Regions from separate parts of the Homo sapiens genome. Here region 1 is linked to region 2. Evidence: promoter capture Hi-C in human tissues and cell types (Jung and others, 2019). All regions are on one chromosome and are shown on one strand. The core of a region is centred on a gene start or on the middle of the fragment in contact, and the rest is flanking DNA. Distances in the headings are between cores, read along the strand shown. Region 1 has its middle 31 kb from the start of PDPN. Region 2 holds the start of LRRC38 (leucine rich repeat containing 38).

What was found. The method cuts DNA at HindIII sites, captures the fragments that hold promoters and counts their contacts. A contact is called where the count stands out against the background at its distance.
Region 1: a fragment that was not itself captured here is called in contact with the fragment with the promoter of LRRC38 in region 2 in 1 of the 25 tissues and cell types used here (spleen).

What each region holds. Positions count from the first base shown.
Region 1 is chr1:13,550,389-13,555,060 of GRCh38, reverse strand. It overlaps the pseudogene BRWD1P1. Among named protein-coding and RNA genes, the nearest start is that of PDPN, 31 kb to the left of the region's middle. The HindIII fragment of the contact is 3,082 bases long and covers 1,564-4,645 here.
Region 2 is chr1:13,512,656-13,517,111 of GRCh38, reverse strand. It overlaps LRRC38 (leucine rich repeat containing 38), which reads left to right and starts at 3,109. Exons shown (of 2, transcript NM_001010847.2): 1 at 3,109-4,149. The coding sequence starts at 3,519. LOC107984918 (a long non-coding RNA gene) reads right to left here and starts at 3,892. Exons shown (of 3, transcript XR_001737896.2): 1 at 3,771-3,892; 2 at 2,568-2,821; 3 at 848-942. The HindIII fragment of the contact is 3,544 bases long and covers 1,319-4,456 here.

The DNA.
Region 1 (4,672 bases), core at 1,855-4,354, 38 kb before region 2:
CTCCGCGATAGGCGCTGGGCGGACAAGGGCTCTGCCACGGCCGGGCACGGGGCGGGAGGCGGGAGCCAGTGATCCAGCGAAGCGTGTAGGCCCCGCCGAGGCCTGACCGGGCTGGCGTTCCTGTCCTCAGGCGGGTGCCACCACGGCCATCCATTTCCATTTTTAGATATACTTTTGTTGCAGAGATACGTGATAGTGCCATCAGCATAAGATTTTTTTCAGCCGGGCGCAGTGGCTCATGCCTGTAATCCCAGCACTTTGGGAGGCTGAGGCGGGCAGATCACGAGGTCAGGAGTTCGCGACCAGCCTGATCAACATGGTGAATCCCTGTCTCTACTAAAAATACAAAAAATTAGCCGGGCGTGGTGGTGCATACCTGTAATCCCAGCTACTCAGGAGGCTGAGGCAGAATAATCGCTTGAACCCGGGAGGTGGAGGTTGCAGTGAGACAAGATCAAGCCACTACACTCCAGCCTGGGCGACAGAACTAGACTTCGTCTCAAAAAAAAAAAAATTTTTTTTCATCATATATGATTTTTAAAATCAATATCCATATTTTTAAGGGCATTAATTGCAGATTTTCAGATTCTGTTGGGTGCATTTAAAAGAGTAATGTAATCATTTATTTTAAAAGGTCAACATTTACACTATGCTGGGTGTAAAATTGTATCTTGTGCAACTATTTGAACTTGTGCTGAGGAATTTTTTTTTTTTTTTGAGACAGAGTCTTGCTCTCTCGCCTAGCCTGGAGTGCAATGGCGCCATCTTGGCTCACTGCAACCTCTGCCTCCCGGGTTCAAGCTATTCTCCTGCCTCAGCCTCCCTAGTAGCTGGGTCTACAGGGGCCTGCCATCACGCCCGGCTAATTTTTTTTGTATTTTTAGTAGAGACAGGGTTTCACCATATTGGCAGGCTGGTCTCCAACTCCTGACCTTGTGATTCGCCTGCCTTGGCCTCCCAAAGTGCTGGGATTACAGGCATGAGCCACCGTGCCTGGCCGTGCTGAGGAATTTTAAATCTAAGTTTTAAAGTGTGCAGAGAGGGTACATCATTTTTCAAGATTATTTTTAAATATATGTAAGCAGAATAAAAATGTGAAGCCCACTGGGGTAGAGAATGACTGTGACATAGTTTCATATATATTAATTTTCCTACAATACTTATGAATTAGTTACCACAGCCAAATCCTGCCATAATCCTATAAATGAAGTCCAAAATATCCAATCGTTTAAGATACTAGGTAGCACTATTTGAAGTTGACAGAATGGAAACAGGAGCAGGGGGAATAATGGTAGCCAACTTCCAATCGGATTTTACTGGGTTAATATTCCTTTCTCCATAGAGAAAACTGAGGCATGTATGGAGATGTTGCTACCTTCCCAAGGCCGTGGAGGAGCCAGGATTTGGTTCCGGAGTCTGTGCTCTTAATTCCTGCACTATGCAGACCTAGAGGGTGTAAAATAGTACAGTTCATTTGGGTGCTAAATGCAAATTAGTACAACTACTAGTGAGATTGGTTATCGTTCCATATGTTTATCCACCATATGCATTTTCTCATTGAAAGGTCTGCTCATATCTTTTGTCCGTTTTGTTCCTAGACTGTCTTTTTATTATTGATTTGTCAAAGTTAATACATGTCTATATCCTTTATATGCTGCCACTTATTCGTGGTTATGTGTATGCAAATATACCCCCAATTTATGACTTGTTTTTCAGTTTCTTTATGGTATCTTTTGATGAACAGAAATGGTTAATTTTAATGTAACTCAATGTGCCAAGTTTTTCTTTTAAGTCGTGTAAAAAACTCTTACCTTATCTCTAGGTCACAAAAATATTCTTTCATATTTTATTATGAAGTTTTAAACTTTTATGTCCTACTTTTAAGTTGTTAATCCACTCGAAATTGATTTTGTATGTGGTGTCAGGTAAGGGTTCAATCACCCCCATCCCCACCCCAGGTGGCTAACCATTTATCTCAAGATTAGTTTCATAGTACATCTTTTACTCATGGAACTGATATAGCTCCCCTTCATGTATAAGGTTTGCAAATAATTGGGGGTCTAGCCTGTTGCATTGATTATAATTTTTTTTTTTTGAGACGGCTTCTCGCTCTGTTGCCCAGGCTGGAGTGCAGTGGCGCTATTTCGGCTCACTGCAAGCTCCGCCTCCCGGGTTCATGCCATTCTCCTGCCTCAGCCTCCCGAGTAGCTGGGACTACATGTGGGCCTGCCACCACGCCCGGATAATTTTTTTTTTTTTGTATTTTTAGTAGAGACGGGGTTTCACCGTGTTAGCCAGAATGGTCTCGGTCTCCTGACCTGGTGATCCGCCTGCCTCGGCCTTCCAAAGTGCTGGGATTACAGGCGTGAGCCGCCGCGCCCAGCGCATTGATTATTATGTCTGTAACTGCATCAATATCATACTGTTTTACTTACCATAACTTCATCATAAGTCTTGATGTGAGATTAGGCAAAAATAATATTTCCATTTGTTGCCTGTGTATAAAAGTACAATTGATGTTTGTATATTGATTTTTTTTTTCCCCGAGACACAGCCTTGCTCTGTCACCCAGGCTGGAGTACAATGGCGTGATCTCAGCTTACCGCAACCTCTGTCTCCTGAGTTCAAGCAATTCTCCTGCCTCAGCCTCCCGAGTAGCTGAGATTACAGGCACATGCCACTACACCCAGCTATTTTGTTTTGTATTTTTAGTAGAGACAGGGTTTCACCATGTTGGCCAGGCTGGTCTTGAACTCCTGACCTCGTGATCTGCCTGCCTTAGCTCTTATTTGCAGCCACTTTGCTAAACTCTTTTTTTTTTTTTTTTTGGAGGCAGGGTCTCGCTTTGTCACCCAGGCTGGAGTACAGTGGCACAGTCTCGGCTCCCTGCAACCTCAACTTCCCAGGCTAGGACTACAAGAGTGTGCCACCATGCTCAGAAACTTTTTTTTTTTTTTCCCTAGAGATGAAGGTCTCACTATGTTGCCCAAGGTGGTCTGGAACGCCTGGCTTCAAGTGATACTCCCACCTCTGCTTCCCAAAGTGTTGGGATTACAGATGTGGCCTACTGCACCCGACCAATTTTCCTTTTTAGTATTATTCTTGCTTGGCATTAATATAAAAGTTTTATTCACCTTATAGAATAAATTGGGGAATGTTTCCTCCAATTCCTCTGTTCTTTGAAAGTTTGTTAAAATTCCCTTGTGAATATCCCTGGGATTGGTATATGCACTTTTAGTCAAATTTTAACTATTAATTCAACCTTCAATTTCCTTAATGTTTATATGATGGTTCAAATTTTCTATTTCCCCTTTAGTCAGTTTTGGTAAATGACATTTTCTATTATCTTGCCTATTTCATCTATATTTTCCAATGTATTACCATAATGTTTATAGTATATGCTTATCTTTTTGTCTCAGCTAATGCCAGATCTTGTTTATTTGGGCAATGTCTTTTTTTTTTTCTCTTGATTCTTCTTGCCAGAGGTTTTTAAATTGTTATCATCAGAAGAACCAACACTTGATTTTGTCAAAGAACCAACATTTGGCTTTGTTGATACTAATTGCCAGGCACTATTCTGAGTGTTTACATATATTAACTAATTTAATGTGGTGTGTATAATGCTTTCTCATTGGAATTTCCTTATCTTTCATATTTTCCATCTGCTTGTCTCTGTTTTGCCTTCTGGATAATTTCTTCAGATCTATCTCTTAGTTTACTCATCTTTCTCTTATTTGATGCTTAACAAATATATTGAGTTTCAATGATTATAGTTTTCGATTCTAAAATTTCTATGTGGTTTCTTTCCAATCTGCCTGATCAATTTTTATGGTCTCTTGGTCTTTGTTCAGTTTTTAGTTACATATTTTTTTCTGTAAACACTTCATACTTTATATTTTGTATCTGACAGTTCCAGCATCAGAAATTTATATGACTCTAAATCTGTATTTAGTTAATTCTGTTGATCTCACTCAGCGAAGCTTGTTTCCTGGCAAGTTTGGTAATGTTTTTTATTGTGAAATTTTTATTGTGTGTGTGTTTTTTTTATTGGTTGAACATAATCTGTAGGGATCCTGGGAGCATTTATTGGTGATGCTTTATTCCGGAGAGAATTTGTGTTTGCTTTTCTCAAGAGCCAGAGGCTGTTACCACACTGGATACATTTAAGCTCCCTTGAAAGAATCAGGGCTTAAGGCAAGAGTCTCAGATTTAGCTTCCCTATCTCACAGAGAGCTCAAGGCTTAGTGTGCGGATTCCAGGGCTGGTACTCACACTGTCTCCTCCGGTTACATTTGCTGACTGTTCCCAATCTACTGTCAATTTAGTATTCTCCTCCCATCTCCCCACCAACCTTAGAGAGCCTTTATTTTCATACAAGCCTAGCAGCGCATAAAACTATGTTTATTGTAATTTTCCTGAGACCTAGTTATATTACAGAGGAGGAGCCTTCAGAGGAACTGATATGCCGTACTTCTCGAAGAGGAATTCAGTTCATTTTTAATCTTTGAATCATATCAAGGAGAAAGTCTGAATCATGTGTTCTTATGTGAATTATGTGTTGTGTCTTAAACACCTCTTCAACACCTGTTAAGGGATACTGCACCAGCAACAGTATCCAGCTAGAATTTAATACAATTGTTTTGTTTGCATTATCTTTATCCTATGGTTACAT
Region 2 (4,456 bases), core at 1,860-4,359:
CATTTGCACCTAAATTCAACTTCTGCACATAAAATACTGGCAGCATCTTGTTTACGACTTAAGGCATAGGATTTTGGCTAATTTAGATGTCAGTCTGGTGAACAAAGGGGGATATTCTTCTTATTGAATTTTTCTTGCTTACAGCAACCTGGCATCGCGTGGTGGGTTTCCTGGGGACCGCCTTGCACATAGCTTCCCAAGGCCCAACCTCATGGGAAATTGGACAGGGATGGAGAGTGAGACATGACGTGCTCTGTAGTTCGGAGAACACAGGGAGGAGTGAGGATTCCGCTGGGGGTGGGGGATGGGGAAGGCATGACGTCAGGTGTTTAAATCATAGGGATACCTTGGGTATTTGCCACGCTCCTGCTTTGAGCCTTTTGAATAGGAATTACAAAGTGTGCAGACTCTGAGAATACATACGGAGACAGAGCTGACAAGTGGAATCTCTCAACGTTCCTCCCTGTTACCTGCAATGTTTGTTACCTGCAATGTTTGCCCTCAAGGGTAAGAGATTCCCTTCCTGGAGAGGGGGTGAGTGGGTGAATTGGTGAATGGTGCAGGTGGGGACTCAGAATGCCTGTGTTCTATTTCTAGCGCCTATCACTGACTCATATTGTGACCTTGCTGAGGTCATGGCTCTGTTTTATTTGTTGGGGGAAAAATTTAGAGGTGGCAAAGCTTGTATTTCCCCCAAGGGATGGGAGCTCTGGAATCTGAGATACCTCCCTGCTCCCTACAAAGCCCAACCATGTCTAGTTCTGCTGATATTAATGAAAAGAATGCTTACATTTGGATCCAAGGAACTTTGGGGGACACTCGAGGAAACAAATTGTTCCTGCCATCGCAAGATTTGTGGCCACTTTTATTGGCAATATTTCTCCAAAGACCTTTCAAATCATGTTCCCATACAAATACTTCCCCATGCGGCCCTCACGTTGTCTGTGGAAAGGAAGAAGAAAGGTATTTTTTCATTAGTTTCAGGATGAGGAAATCAAGGCTAGGAGTGGTATTTCTCAATAGGTTTGTTACCAAGAGCCCCTCTTAATATTTTAGTACCATGCATTCCCCTGTTTTGCAAGTCCTTGTCAACTAAATACTTGCATTTATTCAGTAGAAATTCATCTCTGTTTTTCTTAAAGTCACCTATGAATGCCGGTTCTGCACAAAAGGACTAGTGCTACCATTAAGTTCACTGGCAAGAATTGCAGTATTTAATCCGGGAGACCTCCTCAAAGATAAAGGCCTAATTTTCACCAGACTTTTTTAAATTTTGAAAAGACCTCCTCTTCATAGTATCTGGGGACCCAGGCTAAGAAGTCCCCAGAGAGATCAAGTGGCTTGTGAAAGATTCTGTGGCTAGTGGTGGGGCCAGGACCAGACCCAGGGTCTTGATTCATATAGGTCAGTGCTCCAGCCAACCAGACCACTTGGCAGGGAGGGCTTGTGTACACACCCAGACATACAGACACGCGGGCATGCACGTGCAAGATGGCAGCCCAACCAAATGCGGGTGTCATGAAACCATGATGCTAAGGGCTCAAACCAGTAATAGGTTCCCCTCAGTACAGGAGGGAGCAGGCAGAACCAAGCCTGAGATTGGCAGAGTGCAACAGTTCGGTTCAGGCTGCTTTTGCAGAGTTGCAAGGGTGGGAGATGTGTTTATTCTGCCACCTGCCTGCACTTTGTGTGACTCTTCAATAATTTATACATCATTTATGTAGGCAGAAGCATTTTCATCCACTCTGGGAGCATTCAGACCACTCCTCCCGACACCTGCCTCTTCAAGAGCATGAGACTGGGGTGGGGAAGCTGAGCCCTTGAAGTTGGGGATGGCAATGGCAAATTGGGCACCCTGGGAGAGTGGAGACAGAGACGGAGAACTGAGGGAGGTCTGGCTTAGTGGCCTGGAATGTAAGTAGGGGAAAAGCTGCAGGACTCCAGGTGCCTCAAAGCTTCCCCCTGGGTCTCCCCCGCCTCTTCCCCAGGGCTCCTGCAAATATGCTCATCTGTTGAGCCCTTGGCTCCATCCCAGGGGATCAGTTTTTTCATCCCATGGCTCAGAGGCATCAAGTCGGCCTGTACCTTTGGAAGAAGGCCGAGGGCTTAGCTTTATGGCTTCAGAATCCGAGGCTCCACCAATCCCCAGCATGGCCAGGGGCCAGGGAAGGGTCTCTGGGAGCCTGCTGCCCAACAGCTGTTCCCTGGGTTATTTTGGTCTAGTGGGAGTCTGTCAATTCTAGGGCATTTGGACCAAAATAGCCAACAGCGGGACAATCTCTTGGTAGCTCTGTGGGGACCCCTCCCCATATAGAAGTTTCTAGAATGAGGTGGGACAGAAAGAAAGGAGTTTGGCATCGGGGTGGTGAAGAGGGAATTTTCCTGCCAGTGTCAGAGGCTGACATCAGCATTTCCTCACTGTCCTTTCATCTCAGCCTTGGCACGTTCCTGACTGCCTCCCTAGGCTATCCAAGGTGGGGTTTTGAGGGGGAGAGAGGAAAAGATAATTTTTGAACTTTGTTCTTGACTTCTTGGTCCTCCCCCAAAGCTGATGAGATATATATTACCTTTTTCCATTTCACAAATGGAGCTACCAGGTCCACAGAGGCAGAGGTACTGGTCTGAGGCCACACAGCTTGGAAGCCAGGCCTGGTGACTCCAGGCCTCAGAGCCTCAGCAGCTGGACCTCTCAGACCAGCAGCTGATCCTTGCATGGATGCCAGTTCCATCCAGAAGTTCGGGGCCGGCATGGAAAGTGCTGACTGGCCCTGCAGGCCACAGCGGGGGCCCTGGCAGCCACTTGCCTCGCTCACCCTCCAGCCTAAGATGGTTCAAGTGCAGGTGGGGGAGGGAAGAGGGAAGACCAGTCACTCACTCTCTCCCCTTGGAACCCCGCCCAAATTCAGACCAGCAGACCCTGGCGCGGCACCCGAGAACCTGCAGGGATTGCCCCCGGAGCAGAGTCAGAGTGACCCAGGTCCCACTCCCTTTGGCGACATAGGGTGGCGTGCAGGGAGCGTGCTTTGGCACCAGGCGGGCGCGAGGGGGCAGGGCGCACGCCCGGGACACGCCTTAGGGAAACCGCTCCTGGGCTTGGTAGCTGAACTTAGACGTCGAGTGCAGCCCGCCCGGTGCGCGCGGCGTCTTACTGCCAGATCTCGGAAATCAGCTGCCAGGGTGGGGCCGCGTTTTGGCGACGGCCACTCGGCCACCCCTGCCGCTCCCGCCTCTCCCAAGAGATTTTTCTAGCGGGTTAATTTCCTGTCCGGGTAAACCCTTTGGTGAGTCCCTCGCCCCTCCCTCCCCGCCCCTCCCCTCTCCATCCCTGCTGTCCCGGCTCCCCAGTCCGTCCGCGCCGCGCTCCATCGCCCCCGCACGCCCGGGCGCACGCCCTCCCCGCCCGGGCCGCCCTCTGGCTCCCCGCGCCCGGCAGCCAGTGCCTCACCGCGCCGTCCCGCGCCAGGGCTCGCTCCGAGAGCCGCTTCCTTCTCGCCGCGGCCGGCGCGGGCCCCCCGGCCATGCGCCCCCGAGCCCCAGCCTGCGCCGCCGCGGCGCTCGGGCTCTGCAGCCTTCTGCTGCTGCTCGCGCCCGGGCACGCGTGCCCCGCGGGCTGCGCCTGCACCGACCCGCACACCGTGGACTGCCGCGACCGCGGGCTGCCCAGCGTGCCAGACCCTTTCCCCCTGGACGTGCGCAAGCTGCTGGTGGCCGGCAACCGCATCCAGCGGATCCCCGAGGACTTCTTCATCTTCTACGGCGACCTGGTCTACCTGGACTTCAGGAACAACTCGCTGCGCTCGCTGGAGGAGGGCACGTTCAGCGGCTCGGCCAAGCTCGTGTTCCTCGACCTCAGCTACAACAACTTGACCCAGCTGGGCGCCGGCGCCTTCCGCTCGGCCGGGAGGCTGGTGAAGCTTAGCCTGGCTAACAACAACCTGGTGGGCGTGCACGAGGACGCCTTCGAGACCCTGGAGTCGCTGCAGGTGCTGGAGCTCAACGACAACAACCTGCGCAGCCTCAGCGTGGCCGCCCTGGCCGCGCTGCCCGCGCTGCGCTCCCTGCGTCTGGACGGGAACCCCTGGCTGTGCGACTGTGACTTCGCCCACCTCTTCTCCTGGATCCAGGAGAACGCATCCAAACTGCCCAAAGGTGAGCCGAGCCGGCTAGGCTGGGGGAGGGAGGGAGGGGGGCAGGGAGAGGCCACCCCAGACCCCAGTCTGGGTGGGAGGAGCCGTGGGTTGAGTTTGGAAGAGGAGGCTTGGGGGATCCTGAACTTTTCCTGGGTCTCTGCTGGGGAAGTGGGTGGAGAGGGACGCATCTGGAATTCTTTGGAGTTTCTGAACCCTGAGGCTGTACTTCTTCCCCTGTTTCTCCAGTAACTCACTTTACCAAGTTAGGGACCTTCCCCTTCTCGGGATGCCCAGGATCATCTCCCTGGGCTTTGGGTCCTAGGACT